Regions from separate parts of the Homo sapiens genome. Here region 1 is linked to region 2. Evidence: promoter capture Hi-C in 16 types of primary human blood cells and fetal thymus (Javierre and others, 2016). All regions are on one chromosome and are shown on one strand. Each heading gives the region's core, a stretch centred on a gene start or on the middle of the fragment in contact. The rest is flanking DNA. Distances are from core to core; before and after follow the strand shown. Region 1 overlaps PRKCE (protein kinase C epsilon). Region 2 holds the start of PRKCE-AS1 (PRKCE antisense RNA 1).

Region 1 (4,906 bases), core at 1,085-3,584, 270 kb before region 2:
TTTTGGCAATGGAAGGCTCAGGAAGGGGGGAAGTTGAAAGAGGAACAAGAAGTGGAAGAAGCATTACTGGAAAGGAAAAGGGCAGGGATAGGGAAGGCTGAGGGCACAAAAACAGGTGTCCCCACTCTACCTAGGGCCACCTCTGTATCCATTTGCAAAATGGTTTCAAAGGGAATCCGCCAACCTAAATGTCCAAAGATTTATAAGTGAAGTCACTTGAGGTTTTTGTGTTTTTGTTTTTAAATTGAGGATTGCCCAGCACAGTGGCTCATGCCTGTAATCCCAGCACTTTGGGAGGCCAAGGTGGATGGATCGCTTGAGCCCAGGACTTCGAGACTAGCCTAGGCAACATGGCAAAATCCTGTCTCTACAAAAAAAAAAAAAAAAAAAAAAAAAAATTAGCCGGGTATGGTGGCACGCACCTGTAGTCCCGGCTACTTGGGAGACTGAGGCGGGAGTATCATTCGAGCCTGGGAGGCTGCGGTTGCAGTGAGCTGAGATCACATCACTGTACTCCAGCCTGGGCGACAGAGCAAGACCCTGTCTCAAAAAACTAAATACATAAAAATAAATTGAGGACGAATTTACATAAAGTAAAACGTACAGATCTTAAGTTTACGAGTCAATAAGTTTTGAAAACTGTATACCAGCATAGCCATCACTCCAGTCTGAGCTGTGCCTTAGATACTATACTGGCTCAACAGCATTTCCTGTAGAGCTCATGCATAAGGAATGCCTGCTGCTGGAGAGACGCTGAGGCTTTTCCTACAGCCCTGGAACCCTGAGGCACCCCACAATATGGGGAACAAAAGGAGCATCAAAAAGTCCGAATGGAGCAAATGGACAGCAGTCAAAGCAGAATGGAGGGAAGAAATGAGTCACCAACGAAGTGATTCGGGCCTAAAAGGCTTTGGGATCAATGAATCTAGTCAAGAATATGCATAGAATGGCCCTGCAGGGTTGCCAACATGGTTGAGTCCTGGAATAGATTCATAATACCTATATTCTTTCCACATCTGACTCAGCCATCGCCCCCACCATCTATCTGCCTTTGAACGAATCACATCACAGCTCAATGCCTCAGTTTCCAAAACTGTAAAACCACGTGAGTGGACCAAACACTCTGTGCCTTTTCTAGCTTGAACAACTTAAACAATCCTGCGTTGATGATCTAGACTGGGCAGTTTCACTGCGCGGTCACTCCAAATTCACCTTTGTTTACTTAACACAGACACAGCCTCCCCTGCTGCTGTCTGGTGCATTCTGCAAACTGGGAACTCTCCTGACAAAGGGGACCCAGAAAGCAGGAGAGGAGGCTTGGTTTCTGCTAAGACGTGTAACTTAGCTGACATTTGTTATATCCTGGCGTCTGGTGAGAACTTTATATTCTGTGTCCTCCTCAAAGGCCTCTGAGACAGTGGAACTGGAAAACATTTAAGACAGAAAAAAAAAGGCTCTGGAAAGAAGGAATTCTGGCATGTTTCTGGCATGTGTAACCTCAACCATTTTGAGTCTTTGTGGGAGAAAAATAGTTAATCTTGTAAAACTAAATTACAACTAACCTGCAAGATCAAGTCCAAATGTTAGCGCCCCCTGGCAGACCTTCCTAAGCCCCGGCTAGAGGGGCTCACAGTGAGTTCCGTGGCCCTCTGCCCTATCCCTCTTTTGGCAGATGTACTCTGAGCTATAGGACCCACGTGCAACTCCTATGTGCTGGCTTAGACGCTATGGTTCTAAACTTTCATAGACTGGGTAACTGCTTTGCACATGATGACTGCGAAATCATTTTTTAAATAAAGGAATAAATGAATGTTAGTCTGCTTTGGAGTATATTTAATTGTGTCCTTTAACAAAGGAATTTCTTTTCTACAATATTCAAAAGCAGAAAATTACCTAAAATGAGCTCTTAAAGCCTCCTGAATCTTCACAGCTGAATCCTAGCGCCGAGATACAATCATCCTCTTTGGCTAAAATGATTCATCAATTTACAAAATGCCATAAAAGTAGAAATATTATGTGAAATAAATGGGAATTATGATCACATGTATTTGTGCAACACTTCTAAAGTATATTAAGAACAGCAGCAGCTAACTTCTGGGGAGTGGAGAATAAGAGGTTGGGGGGACAACTTTTCTTTTATACTTTTAAAGCACTGTTACTGTTAAATGTTTTACTGTAAGCATATTTCCACTGATGTTTAATTAAAAATGAAGTTTACAGAAAATTTTGATATATATACTCATTTAGTTACATGTGTACTATAATAAACATAATGCATTATAATTCATTTTATTGTTGAAAAAAACTGAATCTCAAGAAGATTAAGTGACTTTTTCCAAGAGTTAATCGCAGAATCATAAAACAAAGCGTGCTTACACAACAAAGCACAGGAAAGAGAGGAATTTGTATTCCATTCGTGTTCTAATCCTTCCTGCGGGGACCTCGTCATTAGACCAACAGTAATTTACTGAGTGCACACCCTACGCCATCCCCTGCTGTTCCCCTCATGAGAGCCACAGGGACCTTTCACATCACAACGGCTGCACGTTCCTCATATATGACATGTCACACATAATATGACAACATTAATTATAATAACATTTACAAGAGACTTGCTCTTTTATATCCTCTCAATGGATTTCAGGGAGGAACATACTGCCTATATGATTTTTTTCTCACTTGCACAATTTGGAAGTCATCAGCCACATGATGTCATTCTCCTAACCCACATGTAAACTTTGAGGCATTTCAGGGTGCACCCAGATAAGCATTGTCTTTGGCCAGAAACGCTTCTCTAATTGGTGTTTTTGGACCTTAACTAGCACAACGATTCAGCCTGTCAACATGTAACAGGTAGAATTAGAATCAATGTCTTATAGCAACTGCCTCAGATCAACATGAGACGTAAATGTTTCAAAGCCTGGCTCCCATACATCTCTAAGCAAGAGTGCTCACATTCCATGGACCATGCCAGAGGTGCCGTACTTCAAACTAACAAATTCATAACAGCAATTAGGTTTGGTTTCTAAGCATGTGCTTTGACAGCTCTTTGAAAGATGGAGCCAACTCAGAAAAAAACTTCAGCTACCTGCAGCAGCCTCTTGCTTGATTCTCCTGTTTTAATCAGGGTAGAAGAGGTAAAACTCTCCTCCAGCTAGTGTATTTTATCCCAATAAAGAACCTCCCCCTCCCCCATAATTAATGAATCTATGACCTCCTAGACAGAACTAGCCAGGGAAGGCTGTCATGTAATCAGACCACTCTGGGACTCCAGTGGACCGTAGAGGTTATCTAGGCCCTAACTTCAAGTCCCTCCCAGGCTCTTCCAGTGCATGCTTGAATTGCTCAGTGACCCAGGCACCACTCAATTTACAAAAAGCATCTTTAGCTCAGCAGGTCCTCAGTCCCTCAACAGATGGAATTGTGCTGACTGAATCTCCCCTCCCCTTTGTTAATTCAACTGCCCATTCTTCAAGGTTCCGTTGAAGTTCTGTGTCTTCCTCAAAGCCCACCCCTTCACGGCCCTGCTTTCTCTGAGCTGCAGAGTCTAACGCTTTATAAACATCCGTCCGTGCCTGGTTTGATGTAGGTCTGTATGATCTCCCATTCCAAAGAGTAATAAGTTTCTTAAGGCTGGAGGCCACGTCTTTTCCTCTCACCTGCCCTCAGATCACCTAATCTATAGATGAATATACCAATGATGTCCATCCAATATTTGTTGAACATGCAGAAAATGCCCAGATCACTAAGCTCTGGTCACTGCACATGCACCACATGCTGGCTTCTTGAGGTCTGGGTCTGATCTCAGCCACTAGAATGGGTTAAATCCATGAGCAAGTGGCCACATGAGTGCTTCTTCAAGGGATTAACTAGGCTACTGTATTGCTTTCAGTTCCCAGGAGCATGTGGCCCTCTTTCGGTTAGTATATAAGTCATTTGTTCAGTAGGGAATAGGTGCCTATCATCTTTTTTTTTTTTTTTTTTTTTTAGGATGAAGTCTCACTCTGTCACCCAGGCTGGAGTGCAGTGGCATGATCTTGGCTCACTGCAATCTCCACCTCCCAGGCTCAAGCGAGTCTCCTGCCTCAGCCTCCCAAGTAGCTGGGATTACAGGCACCTGTCACCATGCCTGGCTAATTTTTTTTTTTTGTATTTTTAATAGAGATGGGGTTTCACCATGTTGGCCAGGCTGGTTTTGAACTCCTGACCTCAAGTGATCTGCCTGCTTTGGCTTCCCAAAGTGCTAGGATTACAGGCATGAGCCACCACGCCCGGCCAGGTGCCTATCAACTTTTTAATTCTTGTAAGTTATTAAGCAAAAGGTATATGTATGTGTTTGAAAGCATGTGTGGGAGTGAAAGCATGTGTGACATGCATGCGGTACGTGAGAGTGAACACTTGTGAGCGCAAGAGTGTGCGCTGTGTGAACAGAGTGTATGTGTGGACCAGTGAATGTACCTGGCCCTGGATACAAGTCATCATCTTCTTCTTGCTCCAATTAACGTGTTCTCTGCTTCTTCCATTTCTTTGACTGACTTGGGCCTACTAAGCCAGACGTCTCCAAATATTTTTGACTGCATATACCAGCAACAACATTTTGAAATGTTTTCATATAAATTATAAACACATACTCTGGCCATCCATACATCAAATATTAAAGCTAAATCATGTTCTTGCTTCATAGGTAAGAAAATGAATACAGATGGAAGGTCTGTTTCCCAAATCCCAGTAGCTCATCTTGCCTACTCTGGGCACTGTGTCCAAATTCCACTTTGCAGGCCACTCCTTGAAGCCACAGCTACCCCTAATCTGGCCTCTCACCAGACTCCTAGACACACATCTTGCTGAGGACTGGTGCCAGATTACCTGAAGCAAATGTCAGGTGATGAACTGGAAAAGAGGTCTG
Region 2 (4,880 bases), core at 2,282-4,781:
CAGCCATGTAGAAGTTGGGCATTAGTGAAAAAAACAATGACATGTTTTGTCTTTCAAAATCAATGTAAGCCTTTCTTTTGCGTGACCAATTAAAAAACAACTAACTTCAAAATGAGAAACCTTCCACTCGTCTAGGCCTCAACAAGGATGAACCTGAGTGATAGTAGAAGTTAATGGAATGGAAACAGAACACAAACAAAATGAGTATGTATCTCTTCATTATACTTGCTTTAAGTTTCACAAATTCCCAAAGTTGTGTGCCTCTTCCCATGACTTCTAAAATTGAAAAATGTAATGTATTTATGAAATCAGAGTCCATCGAGGCTGAGCTAAAGCTCAGAGAAATGAAAAAAAAAAATCCAGATAATTACATGATAAACTTCTGGACAGTAAATAATTTATTTATCTTGAAAGAAAGGTTCCCTCCAAATTTTTCTCAAAATAGAGTCGTTTGCCTTCTAACCTCTTATCTATAAAATGTCCTCACATGATATTAGTTTTAATACACTAAATCAGGCGTGCACGTTCATTCTATGCCCTTACAACTGAAAAAAAGTTCGGAAATGACTGGTTACCTTAACCAGCAAAAGCATTTTTAGTTTGCCAACAGCAGTTGCAAGACAATTGCAATCTGCAGAAGACAACATTGGAGAAATTTTTTAAACCTGATCCCTCACTAATGTTACCAAAATTATATATCACAACCAGTAACAAATGCCAAAATAAAATTTAAATTCTTAACTTTGGTTTCTTTGATTCTTTTAATTAAATAAAAGACATTGTAAGAATAGTTTACATTATATAAAAACAGCATCATACATCCTGAATGCATTTGAAATGGGTAGAACATTAAAGGTTTAAAAAAGAAAACCCAAAATTTCAACATGCAATATGTATTCACATATGCACACAACCAGCTCTCAAGAAACCAAAAAGAAATTGGTGAGAAAGGCAGAGAAACCAAGTAAGTATAAATTCCCATGTGACCACAAAGTTTTCCCCCTGGCTCGGTGTAGAACCACCAACTTCTTCGATTGGGTTCTAAAAGGTTCCTCAGCTCCATGTAAAATCAAGTTGATATTTACATCACAGTGGCAGACAAAAGGGCAGGGAAAGCTACTGATATGCTCCTACCGGTTCCCACTACCCCTTCAGAACTTCCGTGGTGTCCTGGCCTTTCCATCGTCTTTTTCACTGCCCATCTGAAGCGGTTGTGTCTCTGAAACAGAATTTTCCACAACGATCTAAAGCAATTGCCTTTTAAGCCAGAGCCCACCCAGCAAATAACACCCGACCACAAGCCAGAGTATCTTTACCAGGCTAAATACCTAAAGCAGTTTCCTAATGTTCTAATCCATGTCTAGTCCATCCCACAGGGTGATACAATTTGAATCTGATCAGGTTATTTCTCTGCTTAAAAAACCTTCACTGCTTTGGGAGGCCGAGGCGGGTGGATCATGAGGTCAGGAGATCGAGACCATCCTGGCTAACAAGGTGAAACCCCGTCTCTACTAAAAATACAAAAAATTAGCCGGGCGCGGTGGCGGGCGCCTGTAGTCCCAGCTACTCGGGAGGCTGAGGCAGGAGAATGGCGGGAACCCGGGAAGCGGAGCTTGCAGTGAGCTGAGATTGCGCCACTGCAGTCCGCAGTCCGGCCTGGGCGACAGAGCGAGACTCCGTCTCAAAAAAAAAAAAAAACAACAACAACAAAAAAAAAAACAAAAAAAAAACCTTCACTGGCTCCTCCATAACCCTCAGAATAAAGCCCAAATTCAAGAGTTGCTATCCACCTAAAGTGGCCTCTCGTGATTCCAGGGTTAAATCGGAAAGAAGGAAGGAAGCAGGGAGGGAGGAGGAGAGGGAGGAAGATCAATGGCAGCTGACAAAAAACAGCTTACTTGTCCCCATGCCCCCAACCTACTCCCACCCCCCACAGTACTTCGCAGTAGTCACATTAAACTGTCTCCAGTTTCTCCTTTCAGGTCTCTGCTGAAATGTCGCCTTCTCCCAAAAGCCTTCCCCAACTCCCCATGTCTAGTTTGGGGCCCTTTTGGGTACTCTGGTGGCATACATCACAGGGCTTTATGAACTATGTCATAATTGCCTGTTTGAGTATCTGTCCCCCAATTGGAGCATGAGCCCTCTGAGATTAGGGTACCTATCTAGGCATGTTCCTGGTTATATCCCAAGACCTAGCTTGATGGCAGGGGCTCCCTAATGATTTATTAAATGAATGATCTAGAAACTATGAAGAAAAGAGGAAAGAATGGAGACACTTGATACCTCCTTCCTTCCCCAACCAGCAGTGACTGACCACAGAAGGATGGGCCTGCATGGCCTTTACTCGCTCCCTCCTTAGAACCTGAGCTGAGCCTTCTATTACTCTCTTCATTATCACAACCTTTCATCACAATGGGGCAATATGTATGTCCAGTCAAGAATGAAACAGGCAATGGTGTTTGTACGGACTGGGCTACTTCCATGTATGGATCAGAGTTTATATCCCAATAGAACCATCTTCCTCTCTATCCATACTCTAGTCTTATAAACTTAGTTTTCCTGTTAATGCAAAAATATAATCCTTATTGACGTCATTCTGACCTGCATGTATTAAGAGAGGAAAAGGCTCTGTATCCTTTAAGAAATTATTAAAATGTTTTAAATTGTTTTGTTGCACTGGTTTCAGTTTAAAAGATCTCTTTTGCACAGCAACACTTCAATCACTAGAATACTTGCATTATGAGGCAAATAGTTACAAGAAACAGGCTGCTGGGGGAACAAGCACAGGTGAGCAATGGAAGGTCAACAGAGCCAAACACGCGGCAGAGAAGCAACAGAGGGTTCCATCTTGAGACTGGGAAACTTACCACTGATAATGACCATGTAATGACACCCCCAGTGAAGCTATCCTGAGGCTCCCTGTACTTCACAAGGCCAAGAAAATCCCGTCACGCCAATGGTAAACAACTTCTCAAAACAAACAAACAAAAAAACAAGTCAAGCATTGGTGTCTACTAGGCCATGATTTTAGAGCCAATGTAGAAAACATTGTAGGAGCTACTGCCAGGTACCGGTGCTGCTTGAATAAAAGCGTGGAGTGGAGGCAGCAACTATTGAAAAAGGGGAGTAAAATGCTGAGACGCTTCCACAGCCAAAGTTCACCCCTCCCCACCCACCTATCCTGCCAGCTGGAGGCTTCCTGGTGGAAGGCCACCTCTCACCAAAGTCAGGCCCATCTGTGAGCTGAGGGCCAGCTCCCCGGAGACCCCTGGGAATTCTGAGCAGTGCCAGATGACAAGCAGAGGCCTGAACTCTTCTGGCATGACCTTGGGCCCAGTACCTCCCCGCCTCCCCTCCTCCCACCTACAGTGATTAAAGATAACCCAGCCAAGCAGCCTGGCATGTTGAAAAGGAGCAGGGCTGGAGGGAAATGAGGAGGACCAAACCGGGAAATGCACCACTGAATTTCCTCAAACCACATGGACCTTAAAACTCGTCAGACCGGTTTAAAATTAGCCAATACCCAGGAGAATAATTCATTAAATGCAACTGTTATGATTCATTTAGAATTCACTCCAATTCTGAAATGATAAATGACAGTGCATTTATGTATAAATGACAGTGTATTCATCTCCCCAAAGCTGGTCACAAGTGCCCTCACTGCTCTGGAGTAAAACATGGGCTAGAAACAAGGAAGCAAAGACTTAAAAACAGCATCATGTTTATTCACTGGAGAAAAAGGTGAGCTGAGAAGAGCTGAAGGCCTGGGCTAAGGTGCTAAGGGGCACGCTGGGTCTTCCTGGTCTGGGGAAACGTTTTCTGGAAAGGAGACGGCTTAATGTACATCTACAGAGTGTTTTCTTGTGCTATTTTGTTTTGTAACTTACAGGGGATTTTTCTCTTTATAATTGATGAGGTCCAGTCTCCAAGATCTGCCTGCTGTCTTCCTGGTCAGCCAGGCTTGGAAACTCTCACCTCATCCCTTCCTTTCCTTCTCTGACATTTAATCAGCATTGAATTAAAATTAGGCATATGGATCACCCAAGGCAAATGGAAATTAAGATACTGGATTTATAACATGCATAATCCAAACACAGAAAATCTTGCTACCAAAAATAATCATGTCTCTCATCCATTTCCCAGACAAACAGTTCAACTGCCTGCTTCACTTTGCCTTCAAGTTTATCAAGATGAGGCCGAGAATTCTCATAAACTCCTCAAGGACACCAAAAGGAGTTCCTGTAGACTCACTCAGAGTCCTTTCCCTCCTCTCCCTCAAGCAGTGCCCACCTCTTTTCAGGAAGCATCTTCTCTTTTCCATTTGACTTTCATAAAGAAGCTGGAGTTTTATTTTTCCTTGGCCTCCAATCTGTGCTTTGGGCTGTGCCATAAAATTCCTCAGTAATTTATGACCTGTTTTTCCTTTAAAGTGGAGAAGCACTAATCCCTCACAGAGTGGGGAGACAAGCATTTCCAAAGTGAGGTAATCTAGAAATATATGCACTGACCACAGTGAGTTGGGCCCTGACTTACAATTGAAGGCTCATGTAAAGATCCCTAGCCCTTGACACAGAGTATGATCTCAGAAATAGCCTGGTCTCCAGTTAGTACCTGGTTTGACAGAGTCCTCTTGACCCAAAAGTCCATCTTTTCCTGTCACTGATATCTGAAAATTCCAGACATTGCCATGTCACCCTCCAGATAAAGGAAGGCCTCCTCCACAGCACTCTTCTAAAGCACCAGTCTTATATATCTCATTACGGCCATCTACCTCAGTGTAAATGAGTTTATACTCAGCCAAGAGGAAGTGAGGAATCCTGGCTGGGCCCCAGGCTTGGAGGGGCTCAGAAGTGGAAGGAGCGTGCACAAAACCTGAAATC

What was found. The method cuts DNA at HindIII sites, captures the fragments that hold promoters and counts their contacts. A CHiCAGO score of 5 or more calls a contact.
Region 1: a contact is called between a fragment that was not itself captured here and the fragment with the promoter of PRKCE-AS1 in region 2, in 1 of 17 cell types (naive B cells). The highest score is 5.7, in naive B cells.

The regions. Positions count from the first base shown.
Region 1 is chr2:45,940,148-45,945,053 of GRCh38, reverse strand. The region is part of intron 2 of PRKCE (protein kinase C epsilon); the gene reads right to left. Among named protein-coding and RNA genes, the nearest start is that of PRKCE-AS1, 270 kb to the right of the region's middle. The HindIII fragment of the contact is 5,163 bases long and covers 1-4,906 here.
Region 2 is chr2:45,674,171-45,679,050 of GRCh38, reverse strand. It overlaps PRKCE-AS1 (PRKCE antisense RNA 1), which reads left to right and starts at 3,531. Exons shown (of 2, transcript XR_940049.3): 1 at 3,531-3,741; 2 at 4,144-4,880. All of the region lies in intron 1 of PRKCE (protein kinase C epsilon), which reads right to left. The HindIII fragment of the contact is 8,353 bases long and covers 1-4,880 here.